Regions from separate parts of the Homo sapiens genome. Here region 2 is linked to region 1. Evidence: promoter capture Hi-C in 16 types of primary human blood cells and fetal thymus (Javierre and others, 2016). All regions are on one chromosome and are shown on one strand. The core of a region is centred on a gene start or on the middle of the fragment in contact, and the rest is flanking DNA. Distances in the headings are between cores, read along the strand shown. Region 1 holds the start of MAP1LC3A (microtubule associated protein 1 light chain 3 alpha). Region 2 has its middle 2.2 kb from the start of NCOA6.

Region 1 (3,428 bases), core at 432-2,931:
GGCAGCCCCACCAGCACCCTCCCCACTCCCAAGCAAGCGGCTGGAGGCACAGGGCCAGGCAGGCCTGAGCAATCTTTATTCTGCAGAGGGACAATGACCACAGATCCATACACCACGTGGAGACCGAGGGGCGGGGAGCCAGGGGCCAGTCTTTCAGGGGTGGGCAGGTCCAGGCGGTGGGCAGAGCCTCGGGTGGGTGAGGGGCAGATGGGCAGACAGGCAGGGGCCTAAAAAAAAGATGAACCACACAGCAGGGGTGCTGGGAGCTGCTCCCCACCCTCCCCCATCCCACCAGCCAGCACCCAGAGGGACAACCCTAACACGACCGGCCCAGGATCCACCCAGGGGCAGAGTAGGTGGGTTGGTGCCCTCTGACTAGGGGGGCACATGCCTGCCCAGCCCACCACGGTAGAGGCAGCTCAGTTCAGGAACCAGGAGCTCTCTGGGCAGGGCCTGACCGGGGCCGCCCGACTCCCAGGCCGAGCCCCCCTACTGCTGGCTCAGAAGCCGAAGGTTTCCTGGGAGGCGTAGACCATATAGAGGAAGCCGTCCTCGTCTTTCTCCTGCTCGTAGATGTCCGCGATGGGCGTGGACACACTCACCATGCTGTGCTGGTTCACCAGCAGGAAGAAGGCCTGCGTGGGGTTCAGCTGCAGGCGGCGCCTGCAGCCGGCGGGAGAGTATGCAGCTGTGAGGGGCTTGGCTGCGGGACGGACATAGCCCTGACCCCCAGAATGATTCCCAGCCTTTCACACCCATTCTCACCCCAGCTGTCACCTCTGACCCAACACCGACTGCAGCCCCGACCTTGACCTTTCCAGCCACCCCAGAACAGGGGCCCACCGCCCGGTCCCATCACCCCTGACCCCACTCCCACCCCTTCTCGGCGGGAACCCGGCTCCCCTCCCGACCCTAGCCACCTCCTGGCGGCGGCTGCCCACGCACCGGATGATCTTGACCAACTCGCTCATGTTGACATGGTCCGGGACCAAAAACTTGGTCTTGTCCAGGACGGGCAGCTGCTTCTCACCCTTGTAGCGCTCGATGATCACCTGGGAGCAGGGCGGGCGGGCAGGGGGTCGTGTCGGGAACGCGCGAGGCGGGGGCGGGGCAGGGCTGGGGGTGCGGGACTCACCGGGATTTTGCTGGGGTGCTGGTCGCGGATCTGCTGTACCTCCTTACAGCGGTCGGCTGCGGACAGCGGCCAGACCGTGAGGCCGGGTCGGGCCGGCCCAGGTCCGCCCCGCCTGTCCCGGAGGGGCGGCCCCCGGCCACGCCCCAGCTCCAGCCCCCACCCCCGGGGCCATCAGGCCCCACAGCCCCTGGCACCTATCGCGGTGGGGAAGCGGGCAGCCCCCGCCCAGGCCGGAGCTGGTCCCAGCCCGAGGGTCCAGCCAGAGCCTGACGTCACGGGGCTGACGTCACCTGCGGCAGTCGGGGTCGGCCGGCACCCCTGCCCCAGAGCTCGCAGCTCGCCTGCCGGGCCTCACCGAAGCTCCGCCGCTGCTTGAAAGGCCGGTCTGAGGGCATCGCGCGGGCCCGGCTGGGCGCGCAGGCCGGGGCTCTGGGGCGCGGGGATGTGTCTGCGGTTTGGGGGCTCCGGGGGCTCCGCGCCTCGCGCTCAAGGGCTCCGGGGCTCGCGCTGAGCACGGCGGCTGCGGCTGCGGGAGGTAACTCGCCCGGTGACGTCAGGTCACAACATTCCTTAAAGGGGAGGCCAGTGCGCCGCTCCCATTGGGCCGACGCACAACCCGCCCGCCCGGACCCGTGACGTCACGGCGCAGAGAGCCTGGGTCCGCGGACCGGGACGCGAGGGGCGGGGCTTCTGGGCGCGTCACAGTCCCGTGACGTCATGGGCAGCGCGGGAGCTTCTCCCGCAGCCCGAACTCAAGGTAAGGCCCGGAGGGCGGTGGGGCCGCCCTAGGCCGATGGAGCGGGCGGGCCAGGCTGCAGCCCCACGGCACCACTTCCCGCCCTCACCGAGTCTGTGTCAGGACTGACGCGGTTCTGGGCGCCGTGGGAAACAGCCGGAGCCAAAGGCCCGGCGCCTTCACGGGGCTTAGGGCGAGAGAAGGGAGAAGGTGCGGGAGGCACAGTCAGACACAGGATAGAACAGGATGCTAGAAATGAACGCCCAGGTTTGAAAAAGAATAATATAATTGAAAAGTAGAGCCATCGAAATTCAGGTCTCAGAGGATGAGGTGAGAAGGCAGAAAAGGACAACAGAAGAGAAATCGTGGACCTGGAGGCTGATCGGAAGCAGCTCACCAGAGAGACAGGTGATGGGGAATAAGGAAAAGGGCACAGATGGCAACGCCAGGAGAACTCGCGGGCCCGAGCAGAGCTCCAGAGGCGAACACTGAAAGACCTGCAGAGACAGTTCCTGAAAAAGAGCTGCCAGAAATGATGCTTAAAATCCAGAGCAGAATGCGCAGACTGAAGATCAACATTTTTTTGGGGGAGGGGGGAGGGGGACGAAGTCTCGTTCTGTCGCCAGGCTGGGGTGCAGTGGTGCGATCTCAGCTCACTGCAACCTCTGCCTCCCGGGTTCAAGCGATTCTCCTGCCTCAGTCAGCCTCCTCAGTAGCTGGGATTACAGGCGCCTGCCACCACCCCCAGCTAATTATTGTATTTTTAGTAGAGATGGAGTTTCACCATGTTGGCCAGGATGGTCTCGATCTCCTGACCTCGTGATCCACTCGCCTCGGCCTCCCAAAGTGCTGGGATTACAGGTGTGAGCCACCACGCCTGGCCGCCGAAATAATTTTTAAAGAATGTAGTTTAGTAACAAGGACATGGAACCCAAAAGGAAGAAATTAGATGGAAAAATGGTGAGCAAATTGGTAAACATGTGAATCTAAACAAGCATTTAATATGCAATATGAATAATAATGATTAATTTGTGGGCCACAGAAACAAGATGCATGAGACACAAGAACATGGAAGACTGAGAGGGCAATTTGAGAGGGGGTTAAAGAGACTGAGCATTGTCTGGCTTTGTAAAGTCAGGTGTGTATTTCAGATATTTAAGAGGATCACCAAAAGAATACAAACGGAACTATAACTGCCAATGCAGAGAAAAGGGTAGTGATGGGTATTAAAACTATAATGGAAGGCAGAAAGGGAGAAAAAGGAAGCAAAGTAAAAGGGATGGTAAATATATAGTACAAAACCAGAGGTAGAAAATGTGGTTTACATTCACCTCTTAAAACACAGATGACCAGATTGGCCAAGAAAAAATAAGATGCAGCTCTATGCTATTTACAAGAGGAAATTTAAAACCTAAGGGCACCAAAAAGTAAAACGATGGGAAAAGGTGTACTAGAGAAAAACTAACCAAAAGATGTACCTATAGAAAACTCAGACAAAATAGGCCTTCAGGCAGAAGACACTGGGGATAAGAGGATCAACATGAAATGATGCGAGGA
Region 2 (3,428 bases), core at 467-2,966, 270 kb before region 1:
TTCCAGGATATTTTAAATTTATTTGGTGTTAATTTCATAGGCTCAAAGGTCTAAGGTGCCCCCCTGTTGCGGTTGCCTGTGGTTCTCTTTGCTCCTGTCTGCCCTCTTGGGCCCAATACCTAGTATTGTGCTTAGGATTCACAAACGCAACAAATACTTACTGAGCACCTACTCTGTGCCAGGTGCTGTGCTATATGCTGAGAAAACAATGTTAAACAAGATGGATAAGGTTTTCTTCCTTATGGTGTCCATAGTCTAGTGGCAAAGACAGGTAATAATGACTCAGTGTATTCTACTAAGGACAAGCATATCGTGCTAAGAAAACCTGTGTGGGAATGGGTCAGGGAAGGTATCCTTGGAGTAGCCCCGTTTGAACTGGGATCTGAAGACTGAGAGTTATCTAAGTGGGGAGAGCATTGCAGGCAGGGGGATCAGCATGTGCAAGGGTTCTCAGAAAGGAGGGAGAACAATGTGTAAGAAATATCACTGTAGTTGCAACCCAGAGAAAGGGGAAGAGGGCCCTAAGATAAATCTAGAGATGTGGGGAGGCCAACATTTATTTGGTCTTTATCTTTTTTTTAGAGACGGAGTCGCGCTCTGTCGCCCAGCCTGGAGTGCAGTGGCGCGATCTCGGCTCACTGCAAGCTCCGCCTCCTGGGTTCACACCATTCTCCTGCCTCAGCCTCCCGAGTAGCTGGGACTACAGGCGCCTGCCACCACGCCCGGCTAATTTTTTGTATTTTCAGTAGAGACGGGGTTTCACCGTGTTAGCCAGGATGGTCCGATCTCCTGATCTTGTGATCTGCCCGCCTCGGCCTCCCAAAGTGCTGGGATTACAGGCGTGAGCCACCGCGCCCGGCTTGGCCTTTATCTTAAGAGCAATGTAGAGCCATCAGATTTTTTTTTTTTTTTGAGACAGGGTCTCACTCTATTGCCCAGGCTGGAGTGCAATGATATGATCTTAGCTTACTGCAGCCTCAACCTCCCAGGCTCAGGCAATCCTCCCACCTCAACCTCCAAAGTGGCTGGGGCCACAGGTGTGCAGCACCATGCCTGCTATGTTTTTGTCTTTTGTTGTCTTTTTGAGACACGGTTTCCCTTTGCCACCCAGGCAGGAGGGCAGTGGTGTTATCTCGGCTCACTGAAGCCTCCACCTTCCAGCTCAAGTGATTCTTGCCTCATGCCTCAGCCTCCCGATTAGCTGGGACTACAGGTGTGCACCACCATGCCCAGCTAATTTTTGTATTTTCAGTAGAGATGGGGTTTTGCCATGTTGCCCAGACTAGTCTCGAACTTCTGAGCTGACGTGATCCACCCACCTCGACCTCCCAAAGTGCTGGAATTATAGGCATGAGCCACTGAGCCCAGCCATTTTTGTATTTTTTGTTGAGACAGCGTTTGCCATGTTGCTCAGCCCGGTCTTGAACTCCTGGGCTCAAACAATCCACCTGCCTCAGCCTCCCAAAGTGTTGGGATTACAGGTGTGAGCCACTGCACCTGGCCATCAACAGATACTTTTAAGTAGAGTAGTGACATGATCATATTTCTGATCATTAGAAACATTACTCTGACAGCAGGGTGGAGAATAGATTAGAGGGCGGTCAGGGTAATGTGAAAAGATGGTGGGTATCTACTACACCAGTCCAAGCACACTGTGTGTACTCAATAAATATTGATGGAATGAAAGGGTTCCTGACTCCCTTTCTTCTATGGGATCAGTAGGACTGATTTGTTTAATTAGTTTACAATCCACCTGCTCATCCTCTATCTCCTGGGATGCTCAGAACAGACCCCAACTCCCATTTTACAGATGAAGATGCTCAAGTTCAGAGAGGCAAGGACAGCTATCAAGAGCGAAAGCCAAAGAGAGCTGCCATACAATCCAGCAATCCCATTCTTAGGTATACACCGGAAAGAAAGGAAATCAGTGTATGGAAGAGATCTGCACTCTCATGTTTACTGCATCCCTGTTCACAACAGCCAAGATTTGGAAGCAACCTAAGTGTCCATCAACAGATGAATGGATAAATAAAATGTACATATACACAATGGAATACTATTCCGCCATTAAAAAAGAGTGAGATCGTGTCATTTGCAACAATATGGATGGAACTGGAGGTCATTATGTTATGTGAAAGAAGCCGGGCACAGAAAGACAAACTTCACATGTTCTCACTTATTTGTGGGAGCAAAAAATTAACTATTTTTTATTTTTTTTTGAGACGGAGTCTCACTCAGCCACCTAGGCTGGAGTGCAGTGGCGCGAGCTAGGCTCACCGCAACCACCATCTCCCAGGTTCAAGAGATTCTCCCGTCTCAGCCTCCTGAGTAGCTGGGATTACAGGCACCCGCCATCATGCCCACCTAGCTTTTGTATTTTAGTAGAGACAGGGTTTCACCATGTTGGCCAGGCTGGTCTTGAACTCCTGACCTCAGGTGATCCGCCCATCTTGGCCTCCCAAAGTGCTAGGATTACAGGCGTGAGCCACCATGCCGGGCCAGGAGCGAAAAATTAAAACAATTGAACTCATGGAGATAGAGAATAGAAGGAGGGTTACCAGAGGCTGGTAAGATTAATGGGGAGGTAGGTGGGAAGTGGGAATGATTAACGGGTACAAAAGAATAGTTAGAAAGAATAAGACCTAGTATTTGCTAGCACAAGAAGGTGACTACAGTAAAAAACAATTGGCCGGGCGCGGTGGCTCACGCCTATAATCCCAGCACTTTGAGGGGCAGAGGCGGGCGGATCATGAGGTCAGGAGTTCCTGACCAGCCCGGCCAATATGGTGAAACCCCATCTCTACTTAAAAAATATACAAAAATTAGCTGGGCGTGGTGGCATGCGCCTGTAGTACCAGCTACTCAGGAGGCTGAGGCAGGCGAATCCCTTGAACCAGGGAGGCGGAAGTTGCAGTGAGCTGAGATCGCGCCACTGCACTCCAGCCTGGGCGACGGAGTGAGACTCCGTCTCAAAAAAACAAAAATAAAACAAAAAACAAAAAAAAAACCACACACACACAAAATTTACTTGTACATTTTAAAATAACTAGAGTATAATTGGGTTATTTGTAACACAAAGGATAAATGCTTGAGTTGCTAGATACCCCATTTACCATGATGTGATTACACATCGCATGCCTGTATCAAAATCTCATGTACCCCATAAATATATTCACCTACTACGTACTTACGAAAATTTAAAAAATACATCAGTGTAGTGTGGGAAAAAACAGAAAATTTTTAAAAAAGAGTGAAAGCCAGATATGAATCCAGGCCTGTATGACAGACATGAAGTCCAGTGCTGAGGAGGCCTTTCTACGTTTGGGAAGAGGGGAGGGGCCACACTCGTTCGATCAATAATTCTATTTACTGAGCATTTTAGCTTGCTAGGGAGGTAATGATGGGAAAAAGAAGAGAGGGATTTAGAG

What was found. The method cuts DNA at HindIII sites, captures the fragments that hold promoters and counts their contacts. A CHiCAGO score of 5 or more calls a contact.
Region 2: a contact is called between a fragment that was not itself captured here and the fragment with the promoter of MAP1LC3A in region 1, in 1 of 17 cell types (neutrophils). The highest score is 5.2, in neutrophils.

Annotation. Positions count from the first base shown.
Region 1 is chr20:34,556,971-34,560,398 of GRCh38, reverse strand. It overlaps MAP1LC3A (microtubule associated protein 1 light chain 3 alpha), which reads right to left and starts at 1,681. Exons shown (of 4, transcript NM_032514.4): 1 at 1,491-1,681; 2 at 1,136-1,191; 3 at 946-1,052; 4 at 54-663. The coding sequence starts at 1,530. The coding sequence ends at 501. RefSeq lists silencers at 1,500-1,549, 1,890-1,979. The HindIII fragment of the contact is 14,836 bases long and covers 1-3,428 here.
Region 2 is chr20:34,826,097-34,829,524 of GRCh38, reverse strand. No RefSeq gene overlaps it. Among named protein-coding and RNA genes, the nearest start is that of NCOA6, 2.2 kb to the right of the region's middle. The HindIII fragment of the contact is 3,463 bases long and covers 1-3,428 here.